Regions from separate parts of the Homo sapiens genome. Here region 2 is linked to region 1. The links are contacts of gene promoters, found by promoter capture Hi-C in blood cells and fetal thymus (Javierre and others, 2016). All regions are on one chromosome and are shown on one strand. The core of a region is centred on a gene start or on the middle of the fragment in contact, and the rest is flanking DNA. Distances in the headings are between cores, read along the strand shown. Region 1 holds the start of TPI1 (triosephosphate isomerase 1). Region 2 overlaps ZNF384 (zinc finger protein 384).

The links. The method cuts DNA at HindIII sites, captures the fragments that hold promoters and counts their contacts. A CHiCAGO score of 5 or more calls a contact.
Region 2: a contact is called between a fragment that was not itself captured here and the fragment with the promoter of TPI1 in region 1, in 4 of 17 cell types (non-activated CD4 T cells, naive CD4 T cells, total CD4 T cells and 1 more). The highest score is 11.0, in non-activated CD4 T cells.

What each region holds. Positions count from the first base shown.
Region 1 is chr12:6,865,009-6,870,188 of GRCh38, forward strand. It overlaps TPI1 (triosephosphate isomerase 1), which reads left to right and starts at 2,523. Exons shown (of 7, transcript NM_000365.6): 1 at 2,523-2,673; 2 at 3,856-3,979; 3 at 4,091-4,175; 4 at 4,250-4,382; 5 at 4,680-4,765; 6 at 5,041-5,128. The coding sequence starts at 2,559. It overlaps USP5 (ubiquitin specific peptidase 5), which reads left to right. Exons shown (of 20, transcript NM_001098536.2): 19 at 156-240; 20 at 976-1,624. The coding sequence ends at 1,069. RefSeq lists enhancers at 776-1,438, 1,439-2,100 and silencers at 2,370-2,419, 2,690-3,129. The HindIII fragment of the contact is 21,039 bases long and covers 1-5,180 here.
Region 2 is chr12:6,665,028-6,670,207 of GRCh38, forward strand. It overlaps ZNF384 (zinc finger protein 384), which reads right to left. Exons shown (of 12, transcript NM_001385745.1): 11 at 4,004-4,162; 12 at 1,450-3,088. The coding sequence ends at 2,687. Among named protein-coding and RNA genes, the nearest start is that of ING4, 4.5 kb to the left of the region's middle. The HindIII fragment of the contact is 755 bases long and covers 2,433-3,187 here.

The sequences.
Region 1 (5,180 bases), core at 1,273-3,772:
GGGGTTCTCTGACATGGAGACAGGCTCTGGCCCAGTACCTGCCTCACATTCCCTGAAACTCCTGTCCTGAGTCTGAGCTGTTGTCTGGATCTTTGGGCCATCACTCAAGCATTCCTCTTCTGTTTCCTTCTCTGACCCCCTCTCTCCTTTCCTAGAGTATCAGCTCTTTGCCTTCATTAGTCACATGGGCACCTCTACCATGTGTGGTCACTACGTCTGCCACATCAAGAAAGAAGGCAGGTGAGTGCTGGCCACATGCGTTTTGAATGGAGAATGGTGGTGGGAATGAGGAGGGCCATTTGGAAGTCCTTGGGATAGCTATGGGAGAAGGTGAAGGGACTGCCTGATGGGGACATAAAGTGCCAGAGAGTGACAGAAGGTCTTGCAGCAGTGATTGGCCCAAGGGTTGGATCTGGCCACCAGCTTTTTTTTTAAATAGAGATGGGATCTCACTATGTTGCCCAGGCTGGTCTTGAACTCCTGAGCTCAAGTGATCCTTCTGCCTCGGCCTCCCAAAGTGCTAGGATTACAGGCATGAGCTACCGTGCCTGGCCAGGCCCCCTGCCTTTGTAAATAAATTTTCACTGGAACCTGGACACACTTGTTTATGTGTTGTTTGTGCCTGTTTTCACGCTGCGGCAGGAAAGTTGAGTCGTTGTGTCAGAGACCAGAGAGAGAGCCTGCAGAACCTCAAATACTATCTGGCCCTTGCCAGAAAAAGTTTACCAACCCCCTGCCTCCCTGGAATGGGTGGAGGGTGGTTGTAAAGGTACTGGAGGATCTGAAGACATAATAGGGTCCGTGACCCTTGTGAGGTTGTGAAGCTCCCTTAAGGCACATGGTGGCTGGGCTGTGGATTTGGGGTATGGGCAGAGAGTGTGGAGAGCACTTCCAGGGGCCATGTCTGAGAGACTACATGATGCCACTTTGAATGCCCAGTTTGTTCATCCTTTTCTGTTTTCCCCACTTCCCCAGATGGGTGATCTACAATGACCAGAAAGTGTGTGCCTCCGAGAAGCCGCCCAAGGACCTGGGCTACATCTACTTCTACCAGAGAGTGGCCAGCTAAGAGCCTGCCTCACCCCTTACCAATGAGGGCAGGGGAAGACCACCTGGCATGAGGGAGAGGGGCTGAGGGATGGACTTCAGCCCCTCTGCTCTGTACCCTTTTTCCTTTTGTCCCCGGCAGCAGGGAAGAAGCTGGAGGCCGTGGGAGAATGGCTGGGCAGAGCAGAGGGGCAGCGATAGACTCTGGGGATGGAGCAGGACGGGGACGGGAGGGGCCGGCCACCTGTCTGTAAGGAGACTTTGTTGCTTCCCCTGCCCCCGGAATCCACAGTGCTCTGCTTCTCTGTGTCGCCCCGCCCAGCCCCCTGGTGTGGAGGGAGGGGTCTCGTTTGTGCGCGTGGGTGTAGCTTTGTGCATCCTCTCCCAGTGGAGCGATCACCTGTGCCTCCCCTCCCCCTTTGTTTGCCCCTGTGTGGTTGGTCAAGGAGGGATGTGAGGGAAATAGGGACCCCCCGACTTGCCCTCCTGCCTCAGTCTTTCCCCCACCCTGTCTCTTCCTTGTCCTTCTCTGGAAAATGCCAAAATACACGATGTGAATAAAAGTACAACGGCTAAATTGTGTCCTGTTTGATACCTTGGGGGAGAGGCTTACCTTCCTGGGGTTAGCAGGAGGGCGCTTAAGAAAACTCCTAACTCTGGCCGCCTCCCTGCCAAAGTCAAGTCTCCACTTTTCACTGGTTCTAGAGCTCTAGGAAAATTGGGGTTGGGTGGGGAGGTGGAGTAGAGTGACTAAATGCCGACACAAAGCCAAGGAAAGATGGAGTGAAGAACCCTTCCCTCTCTTTATTCACACAGGAGTGGAGGATTTCCCAAATGTCCCTAACTGGCTAGCTGGCTTCAGGCTGGGACTCAGTCCCTGCAGTTCCTGCCAGGCCTTGCCAGCCGGGGCGAGGGTTGGGATGATCCTGGCGGCCTATGCCTGTGTGGGCTGCCCCTCCCGCTGTGAACCCTGCATTTGTCCCGCAAGTTTTCACTCAGGTAGACTCCCTGGGTACAAGGGTGCCTGCTCAGCAGTCGGGCATGAGCTGCTCCGATGGGCGAAGGAGGTTGTCTATCCCACAGTTGGAGAGGGGCCCTCTCTGCCCCAGTGGGCGATCTGGGCTACGGCCAAGTTGCCACCAGCTAGTTCCGCTTGAAAACCACTTCTGGCCCCGTGGGGGACTCAAGTCGCCAAGCGAGGGTTCCCCTGAGCGCCGGAGCTCACAGGTCTCGCCTTGTCCCGAAAGCCCCGCAATCGAGGCGGAGGCGACCGAGCCCCCGACTCTCCTAGAACGTTGCCACAAGAAGGGGGAACGTCGGAACAGTGCATCATCGGGCGGCGGCCGGGGCGGCGGCAGGAGGGCGGGCGGGGGGCAGGGCTCCGGGGGACTGGGCGGGCCATGGCGGAGGACGGCGAGGAGGCGGAGTTCCACTTCGCGGCGCTCTATATAAGTGGGCAGTGGCCGCGACTGCGCGCAGACACTGACCTTCAGCGCCTCGGCTCCAGCGCCATGGCGCCCTCCAGGAAGTTCTTCGTTGGGGGAAACTGGAAGATGAACGGGCGGAAGCAGAGTCTGGGGGAGCTCATCGGCACTCTGAACGCGGCCAAGGTGCCGGCCGACACCGGTAAGCCCTCGCCGAGGAGGGGTCTGGCCGGGCCGGGGCCGGGGCCGGGGCAGGAGTGGCAGCGCCCTCTCCCGAGGCCCCGAGGCCCCGAGGCCGGTATCCGCGCGGACCTGATGCAGGGCTGTGGGACGAGGGCCGCTGGGGTCCGGGCAGGGGCCTCGCAGCCGCAGCCCCGTCGGTGCGTCGAGGGGGCAGGGCGGAGCACATGATGCCCCTTGGACTATGGGGCAGGTAAGGACGTTTTGGGTCTCCTGGAGGAAGGTGGCCCCGGGGCGCGCACTGGGGCTGTGCCCGCCAGGCGACGGGGTTAGGAGCGGAGCCCGAGGCTCTGCGGGAGACCGGGGGAGGCTGGGCCGCGTGGGCTTCCCGCTCCCTGCGCCCTGGCCTCCCGCGCCGTGCGCCGCCGCACGTAGCCCCAGACTCCTCCCCTTCCTCGCCGGCGTCCGCGTCCCCGCGCCGAGCTGCTCGGGCTCCCTGAGCCCCAGATCTGACCCCTTCCCTTCGGCAACCTGAACGACTCCCGCCTTCCACGGAAGGGACCGAGCCCGTGCCAAACAGGCTGAGCGATTTGGGAGTGAGGAGCCATCCTACCGCTTTCCCCAACCTGGAAACAGCAAAGCGCAAGGCCTCTGAGTCAGTTAGGTCTCTGCCACCCACGGGCAAAGGATGCTCTCCTCCATCCTCCTTCCTCCCTCCACCGAAATCGGAGAGCCGCGGGCCTGATCCAAAGAGGCATCCCCTTCTCGTTCATTCCCCAGAGGCCTCAATACAAACCCCAGGAGTTGGCCCCTCTCCTTTTGCTACAAATCCTTGCCTTGCAAAGGGGAGGTGAGGATGGGCTATTTTAGAAGGGAAGCAGGGTTGCTCCCTGGAGAATGCTGAGTCTGTGAGGTGCCTATGCCGAGAATAGCTCGAGGAAATTGGAGCCCCAGCTGTTAAAAGAGCAGAGGGCAGGGTGAGGGCCGTGGCCTCTCAGGGGTATCTGGAAGGCTCTTCGAGTTGAGTGCAGACCCAGCCTGGGCTGGAAAATGGACAAAGGTCATCTTGCTGGGGTGAAAAGGGGGAGAGCAGAACCAAGAAGAAGAGGGTGAGGGCTGGGGGGCTCCAGGGCACTGGTTAGGAATTGTGGGGAATGAAGGCTTTCTTTAGTCTCATCCCCCTGTGGTACCATCTTGTCCTCAGAGGTGGTTTGTGCTCCCCCTACTGCCTATATCGACTTCGCCCGGCAGAAGCTAGATCCCAAGATTGCTGTGGCTGCGCAGAACTGCTACAAAGTGACTAATGGGGCTTTTACTGGGGAGATCAGGTGAGATCGAGGTGGAGAGGGGTGTGTGGGACCCTTCCCTCACTTTCCTCGTTGAGGGGAAAGCCACAGGGTGGGCTCCCTGCTGAACCTTGGCTTCATCTCTTCCTTTAGCCCTGGCATGATCAAAGACTGCGGAGCCACGTGGGTGGTCCTGGGGCACTCAGAGAGAAGGCATGTCTTTGGGGAGTCAGATGAGGTTAGTAGCCAAGAGAGAAGATAAGGGATGTCTTTTTCCAAGAAGGATGTCTCACCAAGTCTGTTTCTCAACAGCTGATTGGGCAGAAAGTGGCCCATGCTCTGGCAGAGGGACTCGGAGTAATCGCCTGCATTGGGGAGAAGCTAGATGAAAGGGAAGCTGGCATCACTGAGAAGGTTGTTTTCGAGCAGACAAAGGTCATCGCAGGTATCTCTGGAGAAAGGGACCTTTGAGCCTATCCAGGGCCACAGAGACTCAGAGGGTAGGGTCAGGCCCTGGAGCCTGTCTTGGTCCCCATGCTGATCCAGAAAAGGAAAAAGGGGAGGGGGAGTGACAATCTTTGCTTGGGGCCTATGACTTCTCCAGCCCCAAGGTAGATGCCACCTGGAAATCCCCCAATGTCCACTAGGGGGCAGTAGGCCACCGTTCTTCGTACTCCGGAGAACCTGGCTGGAGAGCTCTTTCTTGTTCACCCTTCCCTCCATCTGTATCTCTGCCCTGCAGATAACGTGAAGGACTGGAGCAAGGTCGTCCTGGCCTATGAGCCTGTGTGGGCCATTGGTACTGGCAAGACTGCAACACCCCAACAGGTAACCGGGCCCAGGAGCCCTGCCCTCATCCCAGCCTGCCTCAATAGGTTTGGACAGACACAGCCCACATGGGGCAACCCCTTATTTCAAAGACACAGAGACCTTGAACCCAGAGACAGTGACTTGTCCAAGGGCATCCAGTCCAGGGCCTGGCTTGGATCAGAGCCCTGGTACTCTGACTCAGTCAGAAACCACACTAAGTGTCCACTGGTGCCAGTGATTTTTCCTCTTAGAGAGGCAGAAAAGGTCTTACTTAGGCCAGCTTCTTGTTCTAGGCCCAGGAAGTACACGAGAAGCTCCGAGGATGGCTGAAGTCCAACGTCTCTGATGCGGTGGCTCAGAGCACCCGTATCATTTATGGAGGTGAGTGGCTTTGGTTCCCGGCTGAGGTGGAGTGGGCTGAGGACTAGACTGA
Region 2 (5,180 bases), core at 1,560-4,059, 200 kb before region 1:
GGCATATTTGGTCATATGTGATACATTCATTGGTATTACACAACATATTGAGACACCATCTTAGGTGCCCACACAGGATATCTAGCACTAAATTAAGTGGGCTTTATTTATCCCAGCCCAACTACATAACAAGTACTATTGGCCAGCAGTCCCAGAGTTCTCAGGATGTGGGAGCTTGGTCACAACTTTCACAACTTTTTCGGTGCTTAAAGCAAGGTTTTTTTTTTTTTGTTTTTTTTTTTTTTTCCAGACAGAATCTCGCTCTGTGGCCCAGGCTGGAGTGCAGTGGTGCAATCCCGGCTCACTGCAACCTCCGCCTCCCAGGTTCAAGTCATTCTTCTGCCTCAGCCTGCAGCTGGGACTACAGGCGCGTGCCACCACACCTGGCTAATTTTTGTATTTTTATTTTACTTTTTTGAGAGAGAGTCTCACTCTGTCGCCCAGGCTGGAGTGCCATGGCACGATCTTGGCTCACTGCAACCTCTGCCTCCTAGGTTCAAAAGATTCTCCTGCCTCAGCCTCCTGAGTAGCTGGGATTGCAGGCGCCCACCACTATGCCTAGCTTATTTTTTGTATTTTCAGTAGAGACGGGGTTTCACCATACTGGCCAGGCTGGTCTCGAGCTCCTAACCTCATGATTCACCTGTCTCGGCCTCCCAAAGTGCTGGGATTACAGGCGTGAGCCACCGTGCACGGCCATCAATTTTTGTATTTTTAGTAGAGATGGGGTTTCACCATGTTGGCCAGGCTGGTCTTGAACTCCTGACGTCAAGTAGTCTGCCTGCCTCGCCCTCCCAAAATGCTGGGATTACAGGCGTGAGCCACCGCACCCAGCCTTAAAGCAAGTTACTTAATTCTCAAAAAAGGTATCTTCAGAGTTATCTAGTCCAATCCCTTCACTAACAGTTGAAGAAGCACCCTGGCCAACACTGGTTGATGGTAGGCAAAGGGCTGAAGTCCAGGTTTCATGACCACATTCTACTCCATAGTACTACAGCTCTCCTGCATAAATCAATCTTGCACCCCTTAACCGGTTATGATTTCCACAAGGTAACAAATACACATATGTATACACATTGCCAACTGCAAGCCCCTCTTCCACAGACTCAGGCAGGAGTGTAGGTCCTTTCAAGAGGCTTCCATTTTTCTTCCATAGGGAGCTTAGCTGTTTTGTTAACACATAACCAAAGCCTTGCTCTCACATATTTAGGCAATGCAATCCCCATGACAGAATGTGTATGTAGAAGTCCTCATAAACCAGGATTTCACTGGAGACATCATGAAACTGTACCCTTCCATGACTGGAGAATTGCACAAATGGGGCATCATCACACAAGCACTTGTTCATCACACACACACTCTGGTATAAATCCTCAGTACTGTTCTTGGACATCTCCCCAAATACCTTTTCCGCATGCTCGCTCACATCAGTAGCTCCACTGCCTCTGATCCTTTTACATGAATTTATTTCTATACAATGTTCTAAAAACACCCCTTGGTTTGTACATAAGTTTTTTTCTTTTTTTCTTCATTTTTAAATTACTTTATAACAACTGGTTTCCTGATTTTTTTTTTAATTTCCTTTCCTCTGAAATCTGCCATGATTTAAAAAAAAAAAAAAAAGACAAAAAGAAAAATGCTGTGGCTAGAGGACAGGGGTGGAGAGAGGGAAAAAAAGGACAAAAATAAACAAAACATCAAATATGAAAATTCTCAGAGATAATGCATTTATAAACACAGAAATGGTTACAACAAAGATGGCCGTGATGAGTGAGTATAATATATTTATATATATATATTTATATATAAATCCGTGTCCGGCATCTGACTGTGGCACCTAGGGAGCTAAGTCCAGTCCTTGCGTTTGCCTTGAACTCTCCCTTCTCCGCAACACCCCTGTTTTGGAGTTTCACAGATAACACAAAGCCTCCCACAGCTCCTTGGGGGTGGGTTGGGGAGACTGAGAGTATAGGGTCTTTGTAGGCAGAGAAGGAGAGAGGCTTCAAGGAAATCCGTAAAACCATAACACACACTTCTAAGCCACCTGTGACCAACTTGGGAATTTCTGGCCCCTTGGGGACCACATCTCAGCCCTTGCCCCCTTCAAATAAAAGGAGGTCTAGCCCCTACCCCAAATCTCCTTCTACCAGCAGTCAATAGGAAGCAAAGTGAGACGATGTAGGGGAAGAAATGGCTCTCAGGGACTGAGGCATTTGAGAAACCTCTGTTCTTTTGCAGGCAAGAATAGAACAAGAGGCTGGTTGCATTTGGGGCTCCCTTTTCTCTGTTATCTGGGAGGGCCAGCCTCTAGTCTTACATCAGCCCAAACTTTGAGGATAAGGAGGGTAAGGATAGGGTAAGTGGCCACACTGGACAAGGTTCTATGAGGTCATAGCAAATCCTTCCCTTGAGCACCGACCCCCAGTTTTAGAAGCTTTGCTTGGGAGGGGAGGCTGCTGGATGACACCATCAGCTCAGTATTCCTTTGCAATCAGGAGGGCTGATGTTCCTTTTGAAGAAGAGTTCAGAAAAAGGATGGTATCCTGTGAAGGAAAGCCGTGACAGAGGCCCAAGGAGATGGAGCCAAGGCCTGTCAAGGAAGAAAAGGACTTTTCCCACCAAGAGTTGGAGAAAGAAGACACCAGGACTACTTCTTCCTCTTCCCAGTGGGTGGCAGCACGGATCTCTAAGAGCTGGCCAGGTGCTCCACCTGGATGGTGCTGGTGGTGACAGTGAGGCAGATGTCCTTATGATGCTCCGCCGTCTTATACGGGGTCAGGTCAAAGGAACACTGGGGTGGAGGGTTGGGATTGCTGTCCCCACCACCCCCACCCTGGGGGGCTGCCCCAGGAGACTGGAAGTGTGGTGGTGGCTGTTGCTGCTGCTGCTGCTGCTGCTGCTGCTGCTGCTGCTGCTGCTGTGATGCCTGGGAGGCCTGGGCCTGGGCCTGGGCTTGAGCCTGAGCCTGAGCCTGGGCTTGAGCTTGAGCCTGGGCCTGGGCCACTGCTGCCGCTGCTGCTGCTGCCTGCACCTGTTGCTGAAGATCAGGCGGGTTGTGTTTGCGCATATGTTTCATAAGGTATGTTTCCTGAGGGAGATGGTAAAAAGAAGTTGAGGGATAAAGAGGAAGGAAAAGAGATTACTTGTAACTAGCACCCCAGGCTCTGATTCTGCTGTAAGCAGAGTAAGCTTTATACTGGTTTTCTGGAGCCAAGACTGAGCAAAACTCAAGTAGCACTTTCAGTGGCTCACTACTGAGAAAAAAAAGAGAGGAACCTTTAGAAGTCACTCAACATTCAACTGGCAAAGGAATGAGCTGCTATTTTTTTCAAAGACCCCTGAATGAAACAACTTTACAACCTTTTCTGGAGTCTCATGGAAAATATCTAACTGGGCCAGGTGCGGTGGCTCACACCTGTAATCCCAGTACTTTGGGAGGCTGAGGTAGGTGGATCACTTGAGGTCAGGAGTTTGAGACCAGCCTGGGCAACATGGTGAAACCCCATGTCTACTAAAAATACAAAAAGTTGCTGGGCATGGCAACATGCACCTGTAATCCCACCTACTTGGGAGGCTGAGGCAGGAGAATCGCTTGAACCCAGGAGGTGGAGGTTACAGTGAGCCGAGCCGAGATCACACCACTGCACTCCAGCCTGGGTGACAGGGCGAGACTGTGTCTCAAAAAGAAAAAAAAAAAAAAAAGAAGAAGAAAATGCCTAACTGAAATCCAGCTCCCCTCAAAATTTCAAGTGGCTTTATTTTGCCTTATGTTTAAGTAAAATGAAGAATTACAGCTTATGCGTCTCTATAGGATTAGGAGATCAGGCATCCCCTAAATTCCTCAGAATGGGTCTAATTAATTTCTGAATATTTACCTGTTCTGCTAAGTTGGAGCTAGGGAGGCAGGGTATTCACTGCAACAGATCTCTACCCAGAAAATGGGGTGAAGTGGACTGTACTCTTAGAGGACTATGAGGAAGGAGAGAAGAAACGGAGCACTCACTGATGTGTATGCCCGACTGCAGATAGTGCAGGTGTACACCTTGGCATGCTTCACTGTGTGCGTAGACAGGTGCACCTCTAGTGAGGCTGCATCCGTGTACGCCCGATGACAGTTGTGGCACTTGAAGGGTTTATCTTTGTTGTGTTGCCGTCTGTGGGACTGAGAAAATTGGGAGAAACCAGAATGAATACATTGTACTCTTTCCTCCTGCCCCCTTGACCTCGATGGAAAGCAAAAAGGTAGGTGTCAGGCCTCCCAGCTTCTCCCTCTATCTGAAGAAAGTAGAAATTGTTTCAAATGAAACTTGAGAAGCTACAGGCTAAGGGTGGAAGCATACCTCATGTAGCACATACCAGGATCCCAAGACAGCTTATGCCCGTCTCACCAGTCCAGTGGTTCTTAAAATGAGGCATGGGGATCTTTAGGGAACACTAAGACCTTCACAGGGGGCCCACAGGGTCAAAACTCTTTTTTTTTTTTTTTCCCAGATGAAGTCTCTCACTCTGTCGCTCAGGTTGGAGTGCAGCGGCACAATCTCGGCTCATTGCAACCTCCGCTTCCCGGGTTCAAGCGATTCTCCTGCCTCAGCCTGCAAGTAGCTGGGACTACAGGCACATGCCACCAGGCCTGGCTAATTTTTTTTGTATTTTTAGTAGAGACAAGGTTTCACCGTGTTGGCCAGGCTGGTTTCCAACTCCTGAGCTCAGGTGATCCGCCCGCCTCCGCCGCCCAAAGTGCTGAGATTACAGGTGTGAGCCACCGCGCCCAGCCAAATCTTTTCAAAATAATAAGACAATGTTTGCCTTTGTCTCTCTTGAACCTGGGAAGTTGCAGTAAGCTGAAATCACACCACTGCACTCCAGCCTAGGTGACCCAGCGAGCCTCTGTCTCAAACACGCACACGCGCGCGCGCACACACACACACACACACAAACACAAAGATGAAAAACCTAACTGAAATCTTGTTCCCCTCAAAATTTCAAGTGGCTTCATTGTGCCTTATGTTTTACATGTAACCCTTACAGAGGTTACATGATGTGTGATAACACAATAGGCCAGATGCAGCAGATCTGAGAATCTACTCATCTTCTAGCTTAAGACATTAAAGACCCCTGTGCCAGGTGCGGTGACTCATGCTTGCAATCCTAGCACTTTGGGGAGGCTGAGGCGGGAGGAT